3 separate regions of the Homo sapiens genome follow, and regions 1 and 2 are each linked to region 3. Evidence: promoter capture Hi-C in 16 types of primary human blood cells and fetal thymus (Javierre and others, 2016). All regions are on one chromosome and are shown on one strand. Each heading gives the region's core, a stretch centred on a gene start or on the middle of the fragment in contact. The rest is flanking DNA. Distances are from core to core; before and after follow the strand shown. Region 1 overlaps LOC105375336 (a long non-coding RNA gene). Region 2 has its middle 11 kb from the start of ASL. Region 3 holds the start of RABGEF1 (RAB guanine nucleotide exchange factor 1).

Region 1 (3,622 bases), core at 782-3,281, 710 kb before region 3:
AAAATACAAAAAATTAGCCGGGCATGGTGGCCGGCACCTGTAGTCCCAGCCACTCGGGAGGCTGAGGCAGGAGAATGGAATGAATCCAGGAGGTGAAGGTTGCAGTGAGCCAAAACTGTGCCACTGCACTCCAGCCTGGGAAACAGAGAGAGACTCCATCTCAAAAAAAAAAAAAAAAAAGAAAGAAACATCGATATCATGTACCCTGAGATATCAGGACACGAGAAGGGGAGATCACCTCTGTGGTACTCTTCCTCAAAAGCCACAGGTTCTGTGTAATCATAAGAAAACGTCAGACAATCACAAATCAAGGGACGTTCTACAAAATACTTGACCAGCCCTTCACAAGTGTCAAGGAAGACAAAGGAAGAGTAAGGACACAGAACAAATGACATTATGGGAACATGTTAACTAAATATAAAATGGTATCCTGAGCCAGGTGCGGTGGCTCACACCTGTAATCCCAGCACTTTGGGAGGCCGAGGCAGGTGGATCACAAGGTCAGGAGATTGAGGCCATCCTGGCTAACACGGTGAAACCCCGTCTCTACTAAAAATACAAAAAATTAGCCAGGTGTGGTGGCGGGCGCCTGTAGTCCCAGCTACTATCGGGAGGCTGAGGCAGGAGAATGGCGTGAACCTGGGAGGCGGAGCTTGCAGTGAGCCGAGATCATGACACTGCACTCCAGCCTGGGCGACAGAGCGAGAGAGACTCCCTCTCAAAAAAAAAAAAAAAAAAAAAAAAAAAAAAATGGTATCCTGAACTGAATCCTGGAACTCAGAAAACAGCAGTGGGAAAACAAGGTATTCAAATAAAATTTTAGCTTAGTTTAATAGTATGTACCAATGTTAATTTCTTGGTTTTTCATGGTATAGACCATGGTTATGTAAGATGTTAACATCGGAGAAAACTATGGGAAGGGTACACAAGAACTCCCAGCACCTGTCTCTACAACTTTTATGTAAGAGAAAAATGGCTGGGCGCAGTGGCTCACACCTATAATTCGAGCACTTTGGGAGCCCAAGATCGGCGGATCACCTGAGGTTGGGAGTTCGATACCAGCCTGACTAACATGGAGAAACCCCATCTCTACTAAAAATACAAAATTAGTCAGGCGAGGTGGCGCATGCCTGTAATCCCAGCTACTCAGGAGTCTGAGGCGGGACAATCACTTAAACCTGGTAGGCGGAGGTTGTGGTGAGCCAAGATCGTGCTATTGCACTCCAGCCTGGGCAACAAGAGGGAGACTCCATCTCCAAAAAAAAAAAAGAAAAATGATTTCAAAATAAAAGGTGTTTTTTTAAAATTGATTTGCAATGGTCTGATATTTTCTCATGATTACACAGAATTTGTGGCTTTTGAAGAAGAATACAGATATAATTTGAGAGGAATTATAATTACATATTTTGGGAAGAATCTGAAACTTGAAAAATAAACAATAGCCTTAAGTGTCTAAGTCCCCAGCACTTTGGAAAGATGCGGTGAGAAGATCCCTTGAGCCCAGGGATTCAAGACCACCCTGGACAACAACAAAAAAATTAGCCAGGCATGGCAGTGCATACCCATATTCCCAGCTACTTGGGAAGCTGAGCTCGGAGCACCACTTGAGCCTGGGAGGTTGAGGCTGCAGTGAGCAGTGATTCCCTTTCAAGGAGAAGTGAGAGCAATCTTTTAGACTATTCCTTCTAACTTTGTAGCTGGCTAAACACTACACTTGACCAAACTCCTCCCACTTTTATAAACAGAATAAAAATCAGGTTACAGTAAAAGTATTCAAATCAGATAAAAGGCGATCTTGATTTCAGCAGCCAGTCGTTGGGAGAATAAACCCCCCTCCCTCAATGGTACTTTAGGTAGGCCTGGCAGAAGCCCAGCCTTACTTCATAGGTGATAGTGTTCAAGTTCTGTTGCCCAGAGCTGTGTTTATTCTTTCCACTTTCTTTACGCTGCTCTTTCAGATCAGTTAGTAAATGAAACACCCAGGAGAAGATACACAAAAGAAGTTTATGAATAAATTTGAGAAATATATCTATCTAAGGTCAGTGGTTTTGAAGGATAAACAGGAAACTGTAGTACTTCCTTTCACCCGCCCATTACGCAGCTTCCAATTCTTGGATTTGAGCAAATATGAGTCCCAGAGGCATATGACATTAAAAAAATGCTCTTTTATATAAGCCAAATAATCCAAATTCATTAATTTACCTAAAATATTTCAAATATGGCCAGGTGCGGTGCCTCATGCCTGTAATCCCAGCACTTTGGGAGGCTGAGGCGGGCGGATCATGAGGTCAGGAGATCAAGACCATCCTGGCTAAAATGGTGAAACCTCATCTCTACTAAAAATACAAAAAATTAGCCAGGCGTGGTGGCAGGCACCTGTAGTCCCAGCTACTCTTGAGGCTGAGGCAAGAGAATGGCGTGAACCTGGGAGGCAGAGGTTGCAGGTTGCTGAGATCACGCCACTGCACTCCAGCCTGGGCAACAGAGCAAGACTCCATCTCAAAAAAAAAAAAACAATTTCAAACATTTCCTATGAATATACACATCACTAATCTCCTCTGATCTCAAAAATATACTATTTGAAAGCAAATTTTCTTAAAACAAATATTTTGTTAAAAAAGAATTCTGCTTCTCTAGTATAAAAATCTAACATAGGCCAGGTGCAGTGGTGCACACCTTTAATCCCAGCACTTTGGGAGGCCAAGGCAGGCGGATCACGAGGTCAGGAGATCGACACCATCCTGGCTAACACGGTGAAACCCCATCTCTACTAAAAATACAAAAAAAATTAGCCGGGCGTGGTGGCGGGCGCCTGTAGTCCCAGCTACCCGGGAGGCTGAGGCAGAAGAATGGCATGAGCCCGGGAGGTGGAGCTTGCAGTGAGGCGAGATCATGCCACTGCACTCCAGCCTGGGCGACAGAGTGAGACTCAATCTCAAAAAAAAAAAAAAAAAAAAAATCTAACATAATAATTTCTTTCTGGAAAAGAAAAATTTTGAAGCAAGTGATAAGACAGAGTTTACCAAAAAAAGGGGAGGAAAAAATGCTATGGATTTTTAGAAGCAAACTTTCCCCACAAGGATAAAACATGCATGCATTAGAGTGCTGGAGGCAGGGGGGAATCTCAGTCTCATTCCTGTTTTAGAGATTCTACCACAGAAGTGAAGAAAATGCAGGCTCACACACCATCACTAAATACAATGCGACCCCTCTCATCTGCTGTTCCTTTCAGAAATAGTGGCATGAGATCAATGAATGCAATGTTTCCCCAATGGATAAAACACCCAAACGCCTAGCAAAGTCCAAACTGGACAAGGAGGCTCCTAAAAGCCAAAGGCTTGGCCAAAAACCATTCAACCATTTCCTTCCTGTTCTAAGCTGCAACCACTTGAGACTGAGCCTTTAGAGAGGAAAGAATATGGCCAACTCTGTTTATTCTACTACCTTCTTTTCTTTTGGGGGGATGTGGAAGGGAGGCGGTTTCTTTCTTTTTGCTGTCTTCCACTCTGGGAGCTTTTTTTAGGGGACAGGGTCCCAAAGGCTGTCTCCCAGGCTAGAGTACAGTGGTCATCACTGTAACCTCAAACTCCTGGGCTGAAGCAAACCTCCCCTCTGCCTTCCA
Region 2 (3,950 bases), core at 1,048-3,547, 680 kb before region 3:
GGAGGCTGAGACAGGAGAATCACTTGAACCAGGGAGGCAGAGGTTGCAGTGAGCCAAGATCACATCGTTGCACTCCAGCCTGGGCAACAAGAGCAAAACTATCTCAAAAGAAAAAAAAAAAAAGAAAGAAAAGAGAATTTTATCTACAATAGCATCAGAAAAGAATAACATACTGAGGCCAGGTGCAGTGGCTTACATCTGTAATCCCAGCACTTTGGGAGGCTGAGGCCGGTGGATAACCTGAGGTCAGGAGTTCCAGACCAGCCTGGCCAACATGGTGAAATCCCATCTCTACTAAAGATACAAAAATTAGCTGGGTGCCGCGGTGGGTGCCTGTAATCCCAGCTACTCAGGAGGCTGAGGCAGGAGGATCACTTGAACCTGGGAGGCAGAGGTTGCAGTGAGCCGAGATCGTGCCATTGACCTCCAGCCTGGGCGACAAGAGTGAAACTCGGCCGGGTGCGGTGGCTCACGCCTGTAATCCCAGCACTTTGGGAGGCCGAGGGGGGTGGATCACTTGAGGTCAGGAGTTTGAGACCAGCCTGACCAACATAGAGAAACCCCATCTCTACTAAAAATACAAAATTAGCCAGGTGTGGTAGTTCATGCCTGTAATCCCTGCTACTTGGGAAGGCTGAGGCAGGAGAATCGCTTGAACCTGGGAGGCAGAGTTTTCGGTGAGCCGAGATAATGCCATTGCACTCCAGCCTGGGAAACAAGAGTAAAACTCTGTCTCCAAAAAAAAAAAAAAAAAGAAAAAAGAAATAAAGAAAGAAAGAAAACCTTACATTTAGGCCAACTGATTTTTTACAAGAATGTCAAGACATTTTAATGGGGATATTTGAAAAGACAACCTAATATAAAAATGAGAAAATGATTTGAATAGATATTTCTCCAAAGAAGATACACGAATAGCCAATAGACATATGAAGAGATGCTCAACATTATTCACGAAAGAGATGCAAATTAAATCCATGATGAGATACTACTAGGCCATAATTTGTCTTTGCAACAACTACTGCAAAGGTAACTACATATCCATATGCAAAAGAATCACTTGCACCCCTACCTCACACTATATAGAAAAATTAACTCAAACTGGAGCATAGACTTAAATTTAAGAGCTAAAACTATAAAACTCTTAGAAGAAAACAAGAGTAAATCTTTATGACCTTGGGCTAGGTAAAGTTTTCTTAGATATGACACCAAAAGTACAAAAAGAAAAAGAAAAAAGAAATATGCTGGACTTCATCAAAATTAAAAACATTTTTGTTGCAAATGATGCAACCAAGAAAGTGAAAAGACAATCCACAGCATGGAAGAAAATATTTTTAGACTGCTAATAGCTGTGGAGTTCTTTTATGAAAAATTTTTTTGCTTTCTTTTTTTTTTTTTTCTTTTGAGATGGAGTCTCACCCTGTCACCCAGCCTGGAGTGCAGTGGCGTGATCTCGGCTTACTGCAACCTCTGCATCCCAGGTTCAAGCAATTCTCTGGCGTCAGTCTCCCAAGTAGCTGGGATTATAGGCACGTGCCACCACGCCCAGCTAATTTTTTGTATCTTTAGTAGAGACAAGTTTCACCATGTTGGCCAGGCTGGTTTCAAACTCCTGACCTTGTGATCTGCCCACCTTGGCCTCCCAAAGTGTTGGGATTGCAGGCGTGAGCCATCATGCCCAGCCAATGAAAATGTTTTTAAATTAAGCTGTGGCAATGGTTGCATAACTTTTGAGTATAATAATCACTGAATCGTGCATTGTAAATGTGTGAATTTTATGCTATATGAATTATATCTCAGTAAGTCTATTTTTAAACAATCAATGTAACTCCTTTATTAAACTAAAAAAGAAAACCATTAATATCTTTCAATAGATTCAGAAAAGTGTTTGACAGGATCAATTCAGCAAATTAGAAATAGAAGAGAACTTCCTCAAACTGATAAAGGGCACCATCAAACAACCTACAAATAACAGCATGCTTGATGGTGAAAGACTAAATGCTTTCCCATAAAGATCAGGTCAAGACAGGAATGTCCACTCCCCTCACTTCTATTCAGCACTGTACAAAATATTCTCTCTTTTTTTTGTACAAAATAATCTAGCCACTGCAATGAGGTTTTTATTTTTTATTTTTTATTTTTTTTGAGACAGAATCTTGGTCTGTCACCCAGGCTGGAGTGCAGTGGTGCAATCTTGGCCCACTGCAGCCTCCACCTCCCGGGTTCAAGAGATTCTCCTGCCTCAGCCTCCCGAGTAGCTGGGACTTCAGGTACGCACCACTGTGCCTGGCTAATTTTTGTATTTTTAGTAGAGACAGAGTTTTATCCCGTCAGGCTGGTCTCGAACTCCTGACCTCAGGTGACCCGCCTGCCTCGGCCTTTCAAAGTGCTGGGATTACAGGCATGAGCCACTGCATCCAGCCTCAATGAGGTTTTTTAAAAAAGACATTCAATTTAGAAAGGAAGAAGTAAATTCTACTTATTCCCAGATGACTATCTATGTAGAAAATTTAATAAAATCTATTTTTAAAAAGTAGGATATAAGATCAACACAAAAATTAAGTGTATTTCCATATGCTAGCAACAACGAATCAGAAATTAAAAGTAAGTTAATAATACAATTTATAATGGCATCAAAAATGTGAAATACTTATGGCTAAATCTGATAACAGATGTTGTTATGAGTTGAATTGTGTTCTCCAGATATATAGGTTGAAGTCTTAACCTCTGCTACCTCAGGTTATAACCTTATTTGGAGACAGGGTCATTTCAGATGGAATTAGTTAAAAGGAGGTTATACTGGAGTAGGTGGGCTCTCAATACAATATGACTGGTGTCCTTATAAGAAAACAATGTGAAGACACAGGGGGAAAATGCCATGTGATGATGGAGGTAGAAATTGAAGTTATGCAGCTGCAAATCAAGTAATGCCAAACATTAACGGTGACACCAGAAGCGAAGAGAAAGAAACAGATTCTGGAACACGTTCCCCTCTACAGCCTTTGAAAGAGGATGGCTCTGCTGACACCTTTATTTCAGATTTCTAGTCTCTAGAACTAAGAGAAAATAAATTTGTTGTTTTAAGCCAGATCAACAGAAATTTTTGTTCATAGTAATTTGTTATAGCAGCCCTAGGAAGCTAAGACAAATGTGAACGTGTGTACGCTTTAAACTATAAAATGTTGCTCAGAGAAGTTAAAGAAGACCTAAGTAAAAGAGATATATACTTTAATAACATGCAAAATTTCAAGAACATATAGAAACTCTTTATTTCCAGCTTTGTCTTCAACGCTTTCAGTTGCTGATGTACAAATTTTTTTTTTTTTTTTTTTTTTTGAGATGGAGTCTCGCTCTGTCACCCAGGCTGGAGTGCAGTGGTGTGATCTCTGCTCACTGCAAGCTCCGCCTCCCAGGTTCAGGCCATTCTCCTGCCTCAGCCTCCCGAATAGCTGGGACTACAGGCGCCTGTAACCATGTCCGGCTAATTTTTTGTATTTTTAGTAGAGACGGGGTTTCACCATGTTAGCCAGGATGGTCTTTATCTCCTGACCTCGTGATCCGCTGCCTCGGCCTCCCAAAGTGCTGGGATTACAGGCGTGAGCCACCGCGCCCGGTCCGCTGATGTACAAAATTATATCTTTATACATTGCATGTCCCCAAACAAAACTAATAATTCTTTTTTTTTTTTTTTTTTTTTTTGAGACAAAGTCTTGCTCTGTCACCCAGGCTGGAGTGCAGTGATGCGATCTCGGCTCACTGCAACCTCCGCCTCCCTGGTTCAAGCGATTCACCTGCCTCAGCCTCCTGAGTAGCTGGGATTACAGGCACATGCCACCACGCCCAGCTAATTTTTGTGTTTTTAGTAGAGACAGGGTTTCACCATGTTGGTCAGGCTGATCTCAAACTCTTGACCTCATGATCCACCCGCCTCAGCCTCCCAAAGTGCTGAGATT
Region 3 (3,759 bases), core at 537-3,036:
TTTTTTGTTTTGTTTTGTTTTTTGAGGAGGAGTTTCACTCGTTGCCCAAGCTGGAGTGCAATGGCGCAATCTCAGCTCACTGCAACCTCCGCTTCCCGGGCTCAAGTGATTCTCCTGCCTCAGCCTCCCAAGTTGCTGGGATTGCAGGCATGTGCCACCATGCCTGGCTAATTTTGTATTTTTAGTAGAGACAGGGTTTCTCCATGTTGGTCAGGCTGGTCTTGAACTCCCGACCTCAGGTGATCTGCCCGCCTCGGCTTCCCAAAGTGCTAGGATTACAGGCGTGAGCCACTGCGCCTGGCCTTACTTTTGTTTTATACTCTGTTGTACCCTCAGCGTAGCACACATTAGGCACTTAGGAAGAATCTGAGAAACGAATCAGTTAATCCCTACTTTACCAATAATGAATAAAGACTGAGAAACTCGGGCCGGGCGCAGTAGCTCACACCTATAATCCTAGCACTTTGGGAAGCCAAGGTGGGCGGATCACTTGAGGTCAGGATTCAAAACCAGCCTGGCCAACATGGTGAAACCCTGTCTCGACTAAAAATACAAAAAAAAAAATATGAGCTGGGCGTGGTGGCGGGTGCCTGTAATTCCAGCTACTTGGGTGGCTGAGGTGGGAGAATCGCTTGAACCTAGGAGGCGGAGGTTGCAGTAAGCCGAGATCGCACGACTGAACTCCAGTGTGGGCGACAGAGTGAGAGTCTCAAAAAAAAAAAAAAAAAAAAAAAAAATAGACTGAAAAATTACGCAACCTGTCCAAGAACACTACAGCGACAATTAGCAAAGCTGGGATTTTAACCCAGGTCTATCTCACAGCCACAGCATAGTATTTTCTTTTTTTTCTTGCTGTGACTGCACGTTACGCCATACATGGCATTCAGGACGCAGAGGAATTAGTATTTACTGTTTTTAACATTCCTTACATGGGAATCACGTAAAGAATCAGGTAAACAGGATTCAATTTGTGACTCAACCATTAATACTTTGTGACACTGGCTAATTTATTTCACTTCTGGATGTCGGTTATGTTTTTTTTGAGACAGGATCTCGCTCTGCTGTCACCCGGCCTGGAGTTCAGTGGAGGGATCTCTGCACCGTCAACTTCCTGGGCTATCAAGCGATCCTCCCACCTCAGCCTCCCTGGTAGTTGGGACCACAGGTGCCCGCCATCATGTCCGGCTGATTTGTAAAATTTCTTTTGTAGAGATGGTGACCTTGCTCTGTGGCCCAGGCTGGTCTCGAACTCCTGGACTCAAGCGATCCTCCTGCCTGGGCCTCCTAAAGATTCAGCTGCTTTTGGATCAACCGATCGCCTTAAGACCTTTTAACTCGAACACCTGTCACATCCTAGGATCCGCGAAGGACTGAAACAGAGTTTCTGAAGCGTCCCTCGGCGCAGTAGCTCCGCTCCACCTCCCATTCGCGCTACCACCGCGGCCGCAGCCCCAGGAGTCGCCGCGGAGCCAGCGTCGCCCTCCAGCTGTTGCGCGTCGGAAGCCGGAAGCAGGGACTGAGCGACAGACTAGGAAACGCCGGTTTCTCCGGGGCTCCCCAGCGCCCCACCTTTACCCCGGAGGCCGCCCTCTTCCATTTGCTCTTGGGCGTCAGGGCGGTACCCCACTCCGCTCGACCCTTTGGATCCACTCGCACTTCCTCCCGTCCAGAGTCAAAGGCCCCGGAAGTGACGTTTACGCGCCGCGCGTAACGTGCGTTCGCTGGCGGTGCCGGGGGCGGGGCGAGCAGGAGGGTGGGTGTGAGGCGGGAGCTGGCCGCGGAGCCCAGACCTACCCGGGCGAAGCGGGCGAGCGGTGGTTTGGACGCCGGCGGAGACGCGGGCGAGGTACGGAGCGGACGGACTGGGGCTGAGAGCTGCTCGGCTCTCAGCTACAGGAGCGGGGCGGCGGGGCGTCTCGGGCTGGGGGTGGCAGGGCGGTCGGTCCGTGCCATCCGCGCGGCTGGGGCAGTTGCGCGTCGGTGCCTCCCGCTGTCCTTCGTCCCACATTCCGTCTCCGTCAGCGCCGCCTTCCCCGTTCCAGGCCGCCCTCGGCTCCCTTAATCCTCAGAGTGCGGCCTCTCCGTCCCAGACGCTAGTTGCCGGGATCTCCAGCGCCAGCCGAGCCCCGACGGCCTGACGCGGAGCATTTCCTGGCCGCCTCCCTCTCCGGCGGCTCCCCTCGCCCCGGCTCCCACCTTCCGTCCAGGCCGCTGGCTCCGAAGCAGCGTCTGTGGTCGCACGGGGCCCCTCCCACAACCTCCCCGGAAAGCGCTGGTATGGGACGCTCGGACCCAGACCACAGCCCCCGGCCGCGGCAGGGGCGCGGGGACTTGATCCCACGTCACCCTAGGGGGCAGAAGTGTCCCGGAGTTGGGAGGGGATTTGAAGCCTGTGGTCCTGACTTCCACCCCGTGGCTGAGGGCGAGGCTGCGGGGCCGGGGTTAGGAGCAGAAGTCCCTGCTTCCGAACCGTCTGGGAGGAGAGCCGAGGGATGCCCATCACGGCAGTTTAGGGAGAGAGAGGGAGGGACTCTGCCGCTTTGGAGGCTAGGTCATAGGCAGCTGGCGGTGTCTCAGCGCGGGTGACCAATCCTTGCGGTTGGGAAATGTGTCGTGGGCGCCCGTGGGCTCGTTTTGCCTTTGAGATTAGGTAGGAAATTTTCCCAGGACGAGTTTACCGGAGCACCTTGGGAGTTGGTTTTTGGCCTGGAGAGCTGCTTTCCCCCCTCTAAACCTAGAACTGCTTTGTTTTTATTTATTATTTTTTTCGACATGGGATCTCACAGTGTTGCCCAGGCAGGTGTGAAACTCCTGGCCTTAAGTGATCCTCCCGCCTCGGCCTCCCAGAGTGTTGGGATTATAGGCGTGAGCCATTGCGCGGCTTTAACTGCTGTTAAAGAGTGTGTTCCGGCCGGGTGCGGTGGCTCACGTCTGTAATCCCAGCATTTGGAAGGCCAAGGCAGGCGGATCATGACGTCAGGAGCTTGAGACCATCCTCCCTAACACGGTGAAACCCCGTCTCTACTACAAATAAAAAAAAAAAAGAAAAAGAAAATTTGCCGGGCATCGTGGCGGGCACCTGTAGTCCCAGCTACTCTGGAGGCTGAGGCAGGAGAATGGCATGAACCCGGGAGGCGGAGGTTGCAGTGAGCCGAAATCGTGCCACTGCACTCCAGCCTGGGCGACAGAGCTAGACTCTATCTCAAAAAAAAAACTAAGAGTCTGTTCCTTAAAATTGTTGTACCAAGAAACTTGCCAGAGATGCAAGAAAATGTGATTATATTGTTAATATTTAATGATAAATAACATTTTGCTTTTAAGAGTCACTGATTCATATCCGCAGGATTAAGAAATGTTCAGGATTTGAATTTTTAATGACCTTCCAAGCAGTCATGTTTCTGCTCTCTAGAAGTTAGCCAGTTGAGGAGAAGGGACAGTCAAGATACTTTCAAAACAGTGTGGTAAGGAATGTGAGCTAAGATGGAGCACCGAGGAAGGAGCCGGGCATTTAGGCCATGCTGTTGGGTGTGGAGCCTGGAAGGGATCAGGGAATACTTTCTGCATGTGTCTTGAAGAATGACTAACATTCAGACTAACAGGGTGGAGTGAGGGAGAGGGGGGAATCAAAGGAGAGGAGGCCAGTAACTACAAGGAGGTGCCTATTAATTTATTTATTGAGAGAGAGGGTCTCACTTTGTCACCCAGGCTGGAGTACAGTGACACGATCACGAGTCACTGAAGTCTCAACTGCCTGTGCTG

Evidence for each region. The method cuts DNA at HindIII sites, captures the fragments that hold promoters and counts their contacts. A CHiCAGO score of 5 or more calls a contact.
Region 1: a fragment that was not itself captured here is called in contact with the fragment with the promoter of RABGEF1 in region 3 in 1 of 17 cell types (M0 macrophages); the score reaches 5.5 in M0 macrophages.
Region 2: a fragment that was not itself captured here is called in contact with the fragment with the promoter of RABGEF1 in region 3 in 1 of 17 cell types (neutrophils); the score reaches 5.7 in neutrophils.

Annotation. Positions count from the first base shown.
Region 1 is chr7:66,026,679-66,030,300 of GRCh38, forward strand. All of the region lies in intron 3 of LOC105375336 (a long non-coding RNA gene), which reads right to left. It also overlaps the pseudogene LOC100419772. Among named protein-coding and RNA genes, the nearest start is that of GUSB, 46 kb to the left of the region's middle. The HindIII fragment of the contact is 4,637 bases long and covers 1-3,622 here.
Region 2 is chr7:66,062,438-66,066,387 of GRCh38, forward strand. No RefSeq gene overlaps it. Among named protein-coding and RNA genes, the nearest start is that of ASL, 11 kb to the right of the region's middle. The HindIII fragment of the contact is 7,771 bases long and covers 1-3,950 here.
Region 3 is chr7:66,738,947-66,742,705 of GRCh38, forward strand. It overlaps RABGEF1 (RAB guanine nucleotide exchange factor 1), which reads left to right and starts at 1,787. Exons shown (of 9, transcript NM_014504.3): 1 at 1,787-1,846. RefSeq lists enhancers at 1,401-1,450, 1,464-2,130 and silencers at 1,581-1,850, 1,871-2,010. The HindIII fragment of the contact is 9,271 bases long and covers 1-3,759 here.